Linked DNA regions of Homo sapiens: region 1 is linked to region 2. Evidence: promoter capture Hi-C in 16 types of primary human blood cells and fetal thymus (Javierre and others, 2016). All regions are on one chromosome and are shown on one strand. The core of a region is centred on a gene start or on the middle of the fragment in contact, and the rest is flanking DNA. Distances in the headings are between cores, read along the strand shown. Region 1 overlaps MED13L (mediator complex subunit 13L). Region 2 holds the start of RNFT2 (ring finger protein, transmembrane 2).

Region 1 (6,506 bases), core at 3,886-6,385, 610 kb after region 2:
CCTGAGCTGAAGCGATCTGCCTTCCTTGGCCTCCCAAAGTGCTGGGATTACAGGTGTGCCCAGCCTTGGTACTGCTATTTCTAAAATGTGATTGCAATGGGATTTTGAATGATACATGCACACAAAAACATATGTATATACATAAATGTGAAGGTTCTTTTTTAACCAGAACCTAAAACCTAGAGAGTTTCATCGTAACGTCTGTTAAAGATGACAGTTCTGGACATTGTGCCCAGCGTAATGCAGAGTTTATTTGATGAGGATTTGAGAAGGAAGTACCTTTAGTATCATTTGTACACAGTGTTGTGGCAGAGCTGTGAATTTTTTTCTGTTTTGCAAAGAGAAGTAAGCATACTTATGCTGGTTAATGGAGGTTGCCTTTCCAATTTGCTGTGCAACCTGGTGAACAGTTTGCGTGCTGAATCTTGATACAGCCTTTCCTCTGTTTAGTATTATAATATGTGCTTAGCTGGCACATACAATATGGATTATGTTTGATTATTTTGTGTATAATTTCCATAAATAAACAATCTCCTTTCCTTATAATCCTTCCTTTCTCTCCAAAATAAGCATTAGAATTGAACTAGTGGAACTTTAGACTGTCTTCTTCAGTGGTTCTCAACAGGAGAGATTTTTTACCCCCCAGAGGACATTTGGCAATGGTTGGAGACATTTTTTGGTTGTTGTAACTTCAGATTGTGAAGCCTGAAAACCAAGCCCACAATGTATACTTTTAAAATATACATGTATTTTTCTATGTTAACCTGCTTATAAAACTTTAATAAAACATACATTGTTCAAAGCTTTTTCATGTGTGTTTAAGTGAAAATGTCACTTTGAACATAAGATATACTTGTTCCTTCCTGTTTATTTTTCTAGTTAATTCTTAGCTTGCTCAGTTTTAAGGTTTTTTTTTTTTAAATGGCTTAGATACTTGTTCAGAGCTTATATTGTACAATAATCCACATATATTCAACACCTACAGGCTGTTAGAGGACTGCATGCAGCTACTTACTGAATGCCAGTATTGCTTGCATTGTCTGTTGTAGAACTTCTGTAGTCACTAAATTATCAGTCCCCATACAGTACATCACAGGAAGTTGGCAGATACAATGATCCATCTGTTATCACACCCATCAAGTGCATTGGCTTGAAGGGAAAAGGCTGCAGATTGGAGCTCAGTGTGTGAGAGAAGTGAGATTCCAAGATGCTTATCATTCTTTCCAGAAAGTCCTTTTTGGCCTTTTGTCAAGCTTGACTTGCTCATTTCTAAAACAGCCTTTCAGTTTATGATACCGTTACCTTTTCATTAATATTTTTGGAAAAACTAGACATGTTGTCAGAGATGCTTATTTTTCTTGAATGAGGTTTTAGGGTATCAGCTTTTCTTTCCCCTCCTAGCGGGTGGCTGTGGGGAATTCTTGGTCAGATTGTCATAGAAAATGAGCAGTGGAAAATTGAAGCTGCACAATCTGGAGAGTTTTATTTTTAAAATAGTCATTCTTAACCTGAACTAAAGTAAAGCAAGTATAAAACATTTTTATGTTATTCCAGTGTGGCCAAGATTTTTTTTCTTAAATTTATACAAGTATGATCACTTTCAAAGGAGAGTATGATTTTCATAGTTAATCAAAAATGTTTAGGCAGTTTTTTGTGAGTTTAAGAAACCTGTTGGTTTCCTGGAAAGTCATGAATGTTTATGATATCAAGGGTCTGTTATAGAGCCTCTGAGATCTTTTAGACAAAAGCATTGATGCTGTTCTTAATGGCACTTTGAAGTTTTGGTGACTACTCTTGAGGTAAATGGATATGTGCTGATCATTTCATTCTTTCTTTCTTTCTTTCTTTCTTTTTTTTTTTTTTGAGACTGAGTCTCACTCTGTTGCCCAGGCTGGAGTGCCGTGGCACGATCTCGGCTCACTACAACCTCCACCTCCCTGTTTCAAGTGATTCTCCTGCCTCAGCCTCCAGAGTAGCTGAGACTACAGGCACGCGCCACCATGTACAGCTAATTTTTGTATTTTTAGTAGAGATGGGGTTTCACTATGTTGGCCAGGCTGGTCTCGAACTCCTGACCTTGGGTGATCCGCCCACCTTGGCCTCCCAGAGTGCTGGGATTACAGGCGTGAGCCACCGTGCCCGGCCTGTGCTGATCATTTCTATCTTGTGAATAGTCTTATTTATACAGAGCTGCTCCCTTGCCAAGGCGTAATGTCTGGTTTGGGTAGGCAAAAATCCACTCCCAAATTAGTGTCTGTGTGTTATATGTCTTTGATTTAATTTACGTTCACCTCCAAAGGGGCAAAATGGCTAGAGAAAAAATAAACAGGACAGTGTATGACTAATTGAAAGTTAAAAAGGGCCTTGCTTTTTCTAGACTGAAGGATACAAAATGAATACGAATAGTGAATAGTTGTCTAGCTGATTTAAAAGAGCCATTGTATTTCAGTTTCTTCTCTCTTCACCTTCATTTTAATAACTCTCCTGAAAATGGGATTTTTAGTAATCTGTCTCAGAGTATAATATTTGGGTTATCCTCAAATAGATGATAAATATTTTTATCCACCTGCCTCGGCCTCCCAAAGTGCTGGGATTACAGGCATGAGCCACCATGCCCAGCCTTGAGTTATACTTTATTAAAAATAATTCTGTTTTAAAAATTGGTGAGAAACAATCACAAAAATATGGTGTATGAATAAGCCAGAGATACTTGAGAATAATTATATGGAAGCTGATTTTCCAGGAAGAAAATAATATAAAATTACTAAAACGTCCACAAAAATGCTGCTACAGCATTTTTCCACTTTTATTTTTTTTTGCATTATGTTCCCCCTCATTCTTCAAGGGAAAATAAAAGATTCCTCAACCTTTGTAGATGTGGCTTATGATAAATACTGTAGGGACCTTAGCTCATTGTACCTAATAGAATGGAACATGGAACACATATGCCCTATTCTTGTTTACATGCACTTACATCAATATGTAATATGAATTTAATTTAATATCACTCCATAACTGTGTAACTTTATTTTGTTATTTCAGATATAATGAACACGACTGATAGGACATTGTAAATTTATAGTGATTAAGAGCTATCATCTGTAGTAATAGCCTATAGAGTTGATAAGTAGAATGAATTATGCATAGGAAAGAGAATAAAGAGTTAATTCCATTTCTAAATGTTTCTTATTGGGATAGAAGTTTTATAAGTTAAAGTTGCCTGATTTTAAAACATTAAACTCTTAGGAGACCCACTTCATGACAGTAACTACTTTACATTGTGAGTTTATTGTGGTATTTTAATTTATTTTCTTGTTTTTTTTTTTCCTCAAGAATACCCTTCATTAGTCATTCTAATCTTGTTGATTATCAAGGGTTCAAGTAAGAGCCTTCAATTGTCAGTAGGAAGAAAAGCTAAGCCTTTTATAAACGTGTCTGTTTGGCTATTTTGCGTAGTATAAAAATCCTTAGAATCATATTAGGTTGCATTTTGCTCCACTTTGAATGTTTTCCTCAGGGTCACAATGTTTTTCTCTGTGGAAGGTTCTTTGCAGTATAGTAAGCACACAAGGATTGACATTGCCCTTGTACATATCGTGCTGACATTCTTCTTTGTGGGTGAGAAGACAAGTAGTAAATGAATAATTTCTTACAGTTGTCTGCTACAAAGCAATAGATGAGAAAGTGACTGACTGGGACAGGACTACTTTCCATTAGAGGGTCAGGTAGGGAATGCCGCTTGGAGGAGACAGCCAGATACAGGAAAAGGAAGTCAGATGTCTTGAGCTCACTTTGTTGGAAAAAAGAAGGCCAGTGCTGTTGAAATGAGTACACAGAGGGTGTTGGAAGAGGTAGACAGAGGTTTGATCAGGTGGAGCCTTGTAGGCCATGGTAAGGAGCTTATTAAATAGATTATTAATTCCATGAGAAGCCATTAAAATAAGGCTTTAAGAGGCAGGATGCTACGATGTGACTTAAGGTTTGAAAAAGATTACTTTGGCTCTCATGAATAATGGACTTCAGGTGCTTTGAGTGAAAGCAGGGAGACTAGTTTAAAAAGCTTTGCTTCTTGATGAAGCTGGATTGTAAAAGAAACGGGATGACAATTTCTGTACTTTACAAAGTGTTAGTATATCTTCTGTCCAAACAGCTGTTTTATGTTTACTGTTTCTTTAGGTTATTTTCTTTATCATCTGAACTGCTGAGTTATTCTGAGTGGGTAATATTGCCTTTGAATATATCTATATTTTAGTTAGAGTAGTAACTGTTTAACGGACTACATAGGGGTACTTATATTTAAAATTTAGTATAAAAAGTTTGGGTAAAGATTTATAGTAATTATAATTTTTGTTTATTCCATTACAGATATTTAAGCACACATCTGAAAAGTTGAGATCATGATGTATATACAGTTGAACTTTTAACCTATTATCTCATATGTATTTTTCGTTTTTGAATCGGAATTGAAAAAATGTTTTTAAATTATGAGTTATAACAAACAAAATTTCATACAAAAGAAATGAATTATTATATAACAGATCTAATATAGCTCCCAAGAAATACTACAGGCAACCAAAAATCTTTCTGAGAGCTCCATCACTATCAAAACTCTGTCTTTTAAAGTGATAAAGTAACTTTTATTGTTATGCTTTTTAATAGCTGGTATTTAAACTATGGAAAGAAGAATTAATATACTCAAGCACCAGTTGACAAACTATTGATAGCCTATGTTTCAAAAGATAATTTGTAAGTTAATTATTTGGAAAATATATATATTTTTTAACCTATGAAAAATCTATTCTGAATGGTGGGTAGATTCTAAGGCCTGCCTATCAAACTGATTTAGTCTGTAATGCTTGACCAGTGTTGGTTTGGGTCCTGGGTTTTGTAACTAGAAGGGGTAGATTGGTTAGGACTTCACTTTATAAACATTTAAAATCCTCAGAATCTGTCTTGGAAGGCTTTCCCACATTCTAGTGCAGTTTGTTAGAATTATGCAATATGAGTGGGAAAGAATCTCAAAGAAAGTAAAGATAACTATAAAAGAAGCAACAGAGCCAGTGAAGTGTTAGCATTGCCCAGTGGCTCAGGCTTTTTGGGTTTTTGGTTTGATTTATTCTTTCAACTTTTCTGGTAATTTGCAAATTCTATCCTCTTTGCAAACTCTTTGTATTTATTTGTAATACCTTTTCAAGTGAGCTCTCTGTAGAACTTCCTAAGTTATAATGGCTAAAACTACAACTGGATAAAACTGCAGCTGTCCTGGTTGAGACTGGAGATGGAAAGGGCCAGAGGGACTCACTGGGGCTCTTGCACAGGACTCTAGTACTCCAAGGACCACAGGAAGAAACCACTGCACCTTGTGTTATGGGAGCCGCCCAGGCCTGCCCTACTCCAGACTGTGCCCTATCCAAAACAACGGTGTTACTTAACTTTGCAACCAAAATGCCATTCTAGCCAGATTTCGAAAGAACATAGGATTGAACTCATTCACACCACTGCGACTGTAAATAACTGACCTTTATTTCCTAAAGGACTTGCAGTTTTCATATTGACTTGTTAATGCAAAGGAATCTTGTAGAGTTGAAACACCAACATGAAGTAAAAATATTGGCAGTGTTGGTGTGTTTAGGTCATTTATAAATTTTTTGCTTATGAGTTGGAAACTTCTTGGCTTAAGTTTTGGATAATGACAACTTTTCCTGGATATATTTTAACTTAAAAGTTTTGAGAAACTTTTATTGCTTTCCAATAGGTTGTTTTTGCATTCATAAACAAATTAATTTTGAAGACACAAGGGGAGAATTGTACATTCTGTCTTTTAAAAGTTGAGAATAATAATTTGTGATTCTATTAAGAGCCAGATAATTGTAACAGAAATTCATATGTAAACCATAGTTGTTTATGAAAGTAAAATGTTCTGATTACTAAGAATACATTTAAACTGAAATGTTTTTAAAATAAAAATTTTTAATGTGTGGTGACATGTTTTATACTGATGATTAACTTTGTCTTTTCCAAAAAGAAGACAAACAGGGAAAGTATGCAGAAGTAATTTGATTAGTTTTGGGGGAGTCATGACTTCACACAGTACAGAAAACCAAAATAAGAGAGACATGGATTGGGCACCGACAGTAGAAATTGTATAGATGTTATCTTCTGTAATAAGACTCATTGTTTGATTTCAGATGATGAAAATTTTAAGCTTGTGTAATTCTAAAATTGTGTGGGACACATAAAAACTTCTCTTCAAAATACACTGTGTTTAAGTGCACATTAGTGTTCAGTGGTCCATTTATAGACATATCAGAGTTAGGCTACACATTTTCTAGTTTCTAACCTGCTGTGGTAGCACAGGTCAGAAAACTCTAAAATCCTACTATTTAAAATTATTAAAGCATTTTGCTGTTTTACAAAAATTTGTTTGTTGTATGTACATAACCGTTTGCATTGATTGATTGATTGATTGAGATGGGATCACACTGTAGTGCCCAGGCTGGCCTTGA
Region 2 (6,330 bases), core at 2,373-4,872:
GTTCACACCTATAATCCCAGGGCTTTGAGAGATCAAGGTAGGAAGATCGCTTGAGCCCAGGAGTTTGAGGCCAGTCTGGACAACTTAGTGAGACCCCGTCTCTACCAAAAAATTTTAAAAATTAGCTAGGTATGGTGGCACATGCCTGTAGTCCCAGCTACTCAGGAGGCTGAGGCAGGAGGATTGCTTGAGCCTAGGATTTGGAGGCTATAGTGAGCCATGATCACCACTGCACTCCAGCCTGGGTAACAGAGCAAGACTCTCTCTCAAAAAAGAAACCTAACCTGTAATTTGATCGTATTGGAAGGTGGGCCTTTGGGAATGATTAGGTGATGAGATGGGCTCTTCACGAATGGGATTAGTGCCCTTAAAAAGGAGACCCAGAGAGATCCCTTTCCCTTCACCACATTAAGACATAGCAAAAGAATGGCCATCAGTGAACCAGAAAGTGGGCCTTTCGCAGACACTGAATATGCTGGAGCTTTCATCTTGGACTTCCTAGCTTCCAGCACTGTGAGAGATAAACATTTGTTGTTTAAACCACCCATTCTATGATATTTTTGTGATAGCAGCCTGTATGGACTAAGACATCTCTATAAATCAAAATTCCACAGGTACATTCATTGATACAATGAGTCAGGTGGCTCACCTATCACACAGGACTTTGAAATTTAGCATAAAAGAAAGAGCAAGCTATTATGCGTTGAATGTTTAGTATGAGGCCATCAGTGTGACTCTAACAACTAACGCTGAGGGTGAGGTATTGTTCAATCCAGTTTTGGGTTGCCCCTCACCACCCGAAGCCTAGAGCCCTCAGATGGAACAGAAGCAGGGATGCCTACCTTTCAGGTGGAATGTTATCCGTGTTGCTGCTGTGGCGTCTCTGCATCTTCCTTAACACCTAAAACCCAACACATGGGTGAGCCAGAGTCTCCCAACACTCCCACTGCCTGTCAGATTGCCAAGGTAATTGTAAACTGCAAACCTGCACTAGTCGTATCTTAGACCCCTAGTGCTCTCTGGCATTTTCCAAAGTATGTTTCAATCTTTCATGCCATTCCATCCTCAATGTGACATTCTATCCCATGAGGAAAGCTATCACCCCATTTCACAGAGGAGGACGATGAGACTCAGAGGTGGAGAAAGTCCTCATGTGAGAGGATAACGCGGTAAACTGTGCAGCCAAGAGGTGCTGGATGAAGTGAAGTGGGCAGCGGACTGGCAGGAGACATGGATTCTGGGTTGATGCTGCTGCTAACTTGCTGTGACCCTAGACAAATCAGTAACCCCTCTGTGGGTTCAGATTCCCCATGTGTTACATGGGAGGGGTGGAGTGGTCAAACCAAAACTTCCTTCCAGCTCTCACATTTAATCAAGTAGTAATAAAGATGCAAATTCTCTTGGAGACGTGTCACCTGATTCACTGTGAAGAGCCACATGGACTTCAGAACTCCATGTTGACGACACTGGAGGTAGGCATTCGGGAATCCTCAGGGGGATGTGACCAATGGATCCCAGAGAGGACAGGCCTCCCCCTCCTCTTCGTCTCCAGAGGGATGCACAGTCAGGGGAGCTTGCCAGAGACTCCAAACCTGGATGGAACAGAACACCTGGATGAACAGTCCCTGCGATACCTTGAATCTGCTAAGAAGCCTTAGGACATTGTTGGTAGCTATAAGCAGATGATTCCATCTGCTCAGTATCTCTGGGTAGCCTCTCAGTGATCCCCCCTTGAAACTCCTTTTTTTTTTTTAAGACGGAGTGGTGCGATCTTGGCTCACTGCAACCTCTGCCTCCCAGGTTCAAGCGATTCTCCTGCCTCAGCCTCCTGAGTGGCTGAAATTACAGGCTTACAGGCATGCGACACCACGCCCACCCAATTTTTGTATTTTTAGTAGAGATGGGATTTCACCATATTGGCCAGGCTGGTCTCAAACTTCTGACCTCAAGTGATCCGCCTGCCTTGGCCTCCCAAAGTGCTGGGATTACAGGCATAAGCCACCATGCCCGGCCCTCTTTGAAACTCTTAAGGTATTGTATTTCATCCTATTGTCAAACTAAGAGTCCTGATTGGGGAAGCCAGAAAATATGTTTTAAACCCTCCAACGGCTGCCCAGTGCAATCAGAATCAAACCCGAGCTCTGTCCATAGCCTACGGGTTCTTCCTGATGTAGCATCATCTGTTTCCAACTGCATTTCCTCCCATTCTCCCTTTTCCCACTCCTGTCCACCCACAGTGGCCCTTCTGTTCCTCTAATGTGTCAGCGTGTCCCTGCCTCAGGGCCTTTGCACTTGCTGTGCCCTCCCCTTGGAATACTTTCTCCTCTAAATGTGGCAGGGCTTGGTCCCGCAGGGCAAATGTCGTCTCTTCCCAGAGGCCTTCTCTTCTCATTCTCCTGACTCCCCGTAATATTGCCCTGTTTTATATTATTCATAGCACTTATTTGTTCATGTTTGCTTATTTATTTATGATTTGTCCTCCCCATTAGAATATAAATGCCATTCCTGAAAGTAGGGATCCTGTCTACTTGGATCACCCCTCTGCCTCAGCATCCAGGACACTGTTTGGCACAGAGTGGCGCTCAACAAGTATTTACTCAATGAATAAAACATCTATGGGTCTCCCAGTTCCCCTTTTCTAGATCCCTTGCTCCCTGTCCCACCTTTCACCCTAGCAAGGTAATAAGGGCCATCTACTTCCCATGAAAAGGTTTAGCCTCCGTGAATATCTTCTTGTCTCTGGAGGCAGAGCCAATATTGTGGATATAGGGTGTCTATATCAGTCAGATGGTGTCTGACTTCAGTTTAGGGCACGATTATTGGCTGTTGAATGACTTCCTAATCCTGACCAGGCTTCTTGAGGGGGCAGCAATGGTGTCACTAGGGCCACTGATTAAAAATGACCCGCCAGTGAAGCCTCCTTTCTCTTTTGAAAAATTAGGTAACAAACCGGTCAGCAGCAGCATCTTCATATATCAAGAAAAGGTCATTATATAAATATTTTTCAAGAATTTGCAATCTCAACTTAATCCTCCTCTCGCCCCTCCCTCCATTATCCCACATTGCAAATCCTTGGGGGAAAATAAAATTCATATTCCAAAGTTCTCATCCACACATTTAACTCCTAAATCGAATGCTCGAAACTCTACTTTCGGATGCTTGTATTGGAAGAGGCTTCGGATTCTTTGTCGGAAGCAGGCCGTACATAATTCTGGAATAAATTTTTGCACGCGGGATGCATCTGAATGAATGAAACGCTTTTTAATCCTCTGCTCTGTACATCCCACTATGTCCCTTTGAAGGACCGCACCGAGACTTTTCGATGCTTGCGATGGTTCAAGTTGCGCCCCTGGGGCCCGTTACAGGACTGCACCGAAATGCACTCAGAGGAGCATCGCCTGCATCACTTGGACTGGAAGCCGGCAGGTGCACTTCGGGAACAACGTCGCGAGCGCTTTTCATCCCTGCAACCAACACACAGCGCAAAACGCTCTGGGACTGCAAGGGCAGGAGACTACACAGACCATGATGGGAGAAAAGAAAAAAAAATCGCGTTCTCTTTTTACCTGCCCAGACAATTCAGCAATCACAGCCGCATCATTCAGGTCCAGCCAAGCCAATCACCCGCGCAGCCTGGGCAGCATGTGACTTCCGATGCTTCCGGCCTCCTATTGGGTGGTTTCTTGGCGTCGCCGGGTCCGGCGCTAGGACCCGGGCACAGCTACGCCCGCAGCACTCACGCGATTGTCCGCCCCCTTTCCCGGCACTTAACCAATAGGAGGCCGCCGTTCCTTAGGGACCAATGGTGAGAAGATCTTGCGCGACTAGCCCTTGTCGCTGCGGAGCGGAGGCGGGGCGTAGGGCGGGGTCACGTGGGGCTGCGCCCAAGGCTGCCGGGAGCAGACTGGGCTGCGGGCGGCGGGGCCGGCGCCTGCCTGGAGGGATGGGGCTGCCGGGCGCGTAGGGGCCATGCCGCCCGGGACCCGGGCCTGCCGCGTTCCGCGCCCCGGCCGCCGCGCCCCACGTCCGCGCCGGGATGGTGAACCTGGCGGCCATGGTGTGGCGCCGGCTTCTGCGGAAGAGGTGGGTGCTCGCCCTGGTCTTCGGGCTGTCGCTCGTCTACTTCCTCAGCAGCACCTTCAAGCAGGTCAGTGGCCGCCCTTCCCCTCCTCCCCTTCCCTTCTTCCTTCCTTCCTCCCCCTTACTTTACTTTCTCCTTCCTTCCTTCGTTACCTTCCTCCTTTTTTCCTTCCTCCCTGTCTTCCTACCCCTTCCCTTCCTTTCTTTCTCCCCTTCCCTTCCTTCCTCCTTCCTTCCCTTCTTCCTACCTCCCCTCCTTCCTTATCTTCCTCCTTCCTTCCCCTCTCCCTGCCTCCCTTCCTTCCTTACCTTCCTCACCTTCCTCCTCCTTCCTTCCTCCCCCTTTCCTTCCTCCCCCTTCCCTTTCTTCTTTCCTCCCCTTTTTCCTCTCCCTTCCCTTCCGTCTTTCTTCCTTCCCTTCCTCCTTCCGTCCTCCTCCTTTCTGTCCCCCTCTCCCTTCCTTCTTCCTTTACTCCCTTTCTTCCCTGACATCCTCTTTCCTCACTTCGTTCTTCCTCCTTCCTTCCCTTCCTCCTCTTTTTCCTTACTCCTCGCGTTTGTCCGACCTCCCGACTTCTGCAGCGGCGCCGCCGGGGCGTCCGAGGGTGGGGAGAGGTGCGCATTCCTGTCCCGGTCTCAGCACGGGTGAGGGACCTGCCCACCGCCTTGGTCCCTGCAGCGGGAAGGGGTTGCTAGGCCAGGGCAGAGCTGGGACTAGAACCCCGAGTTGAGGACCCTTCAGCGGTGGGGACTGCTTTTATGAACACCTCCCTGCTTTTCACCTGCCCGGTCCAGAGCTAAGAGAGGGCGTGCATTTGCTGGCTTCATCTTCGCAGCAGGCCTGGGAGAAGTGGGGTTCCCAGTATTACAGTGGGGGAAACCAAGACATAGGTGGCGAGGGTCGGCCAGCCCTCGCATGGGTGCCCTTCGTTTAATTTGGGGGCTCTGTGTCCTCCTGGGTGACTCAAAAGGACCCACAGTTCCTTTTATGCTTTTTGTGCATAACTTGATTGGTAGAATTCCACCCCTCCAACACACTGCACCCTTTCATTTTTCTTCCATGTGAGAATTTCTGGGAGAAACAGCAAGGAGCACGGGTGGGGAAATCTTACCCAAAGCATTAATAAGTTTGTCTAGAAGTCCAGGTTGAGTGCTTAGTTGTGTAGAAAGGGTGGTTACACCCCAGGGTGCACCCAGGATAATGGGTTATGCTGTTGTCCTGACATGGTTATAAAAAGCTCTCCTTTTTACTCTCAAAGCTCAAGTGTGTAAATAAAATATATAAGTGAATAGAACATTGATAAAACTATGTGGTCACTCTACATTTAGTGGATTGGCAGGGGAGCTGTGAAAAGGGAAGAATAGGGAATTGTACGTGACCTGCCACCTTAGGCAAACAGAGAGGCTGAGTGTTGTAAGTCCCTTTTATTGGCCGGGATGTCTGGGCAATCATGTGACTACCAGACTTCTGTGACTTGTGTTTTCTGCCACCTCAGACACCTCCTCACAGTCGCGTGTTGTCCCTTCTCTGTCTTGTGACCCCTGAGTGGTGGGGTGCGCCAGGACTCCGTCCTCTGCCTTCCTCTCTATCTGACTCAGGTAATCTCTGGGCCATTGTTTAAATACTCAGGTGATCTCTGGAGGTATGCTGTTGATGCCAGTAGTTGATAACAACAGCCTAGATCTGTCCAGAAATCCCCAAATTCTTATATCCAATTGCCTAGTTGATATCTTTTTTTTTTTTCAATTTTTTTTTATTGTGGTAAAATACGACATAAAATTTCCCATCTTTTTTTTTTTTTTTTTTTTTTTTTTTTAAAGACTGAGTTTTGCTCTTGCCCAGGCTGGAGTGCAGTGGGACGACCTCAACTCACCACAGCCTCCACCTCCCGGGTTCAAATGATTCTCCTGCCTCAGCCTTCTTGAGTAGCTGGGATTACAGGCATGCGCCACCATGCCCAGCTAATTTTGTATTTTTAGTAGAAACGGGGTTTCTCCATGTTGGTCATGGCTGGTCTTGAACTCCCGACCTCAGGTGATCCACCCACCTCAGCCTCCCAAAGTGCTGGGATTACAGGTGTGAGCCACCACGCCTGGCCAGAATTTCCCATCTTAACCTTTTTTAACATGGAGTCTCACTCTGTTACCCAGGCTGGAGTGTAGTGGCATGATCTCAGCTCACTGCAACCTCTACCTCTCGGGTTCAAGCAGTTCTCCCTGCCTTAGCCTCCTGAGTAGCTGGGATTACAG

Evidence for each region. Contacts are between HindIII fragments. The CHiCAGO score rates a contact against its expected background, and 5 or more counts as called.
Region 1: a fragment that was not itself captured here is called in contact with the fragment with the promoter of RNFT2 in region 2 in 1 of 17 cell types (monocytes); the score reaches 5.0 in monocytes.

Annotation. Positions count from the first base shown.
Region 1 is chr12:116,125,266-116,131,771 of GRCh38, reverse strand. The region is part of intron 2 of MED13L (mediator complex subunit 13L); the gene reads left to right. Among named protein-coding and RNA genes, the nearest start is that of MIR620, 20 kb to the left of the region's middle. RefSeq lists an enhancer at 1-268 and a silencer at 974-1,268. The HindIII fragment of the contact is 2,145 bases long and covers 4,063-6,207 here.
Region 2 is chr12:116,735,607-116,741,936 of GRCh38, reverse strand. It overlaps RNFT2 (ring finger protein, transmembrane 2), which reads right to left and starts at 3,622. Exons shown (of 11, transcript NM_001382266.1): 1 at 3,567-3,622; 2 at 1,416-1,592; 3 at 843-901. The coding sequence starts at 1,439. It overlaps SPRING1 (SREBF pathway regulator in golgi 1), which reads left to right and starts at 3,868. Exons shown (of 5, transcript NM_024738.4): 1 at 3,868-4,147. The coding sequence starts at 4,037. RefSeq lists enhancers at 3,340-3,599, 4,368-5,326 and silencers at 3,790-4,049, 4,130-4,179. The HindIII fragment of the contact is 21,202 bases long and covers 1-6,330 here.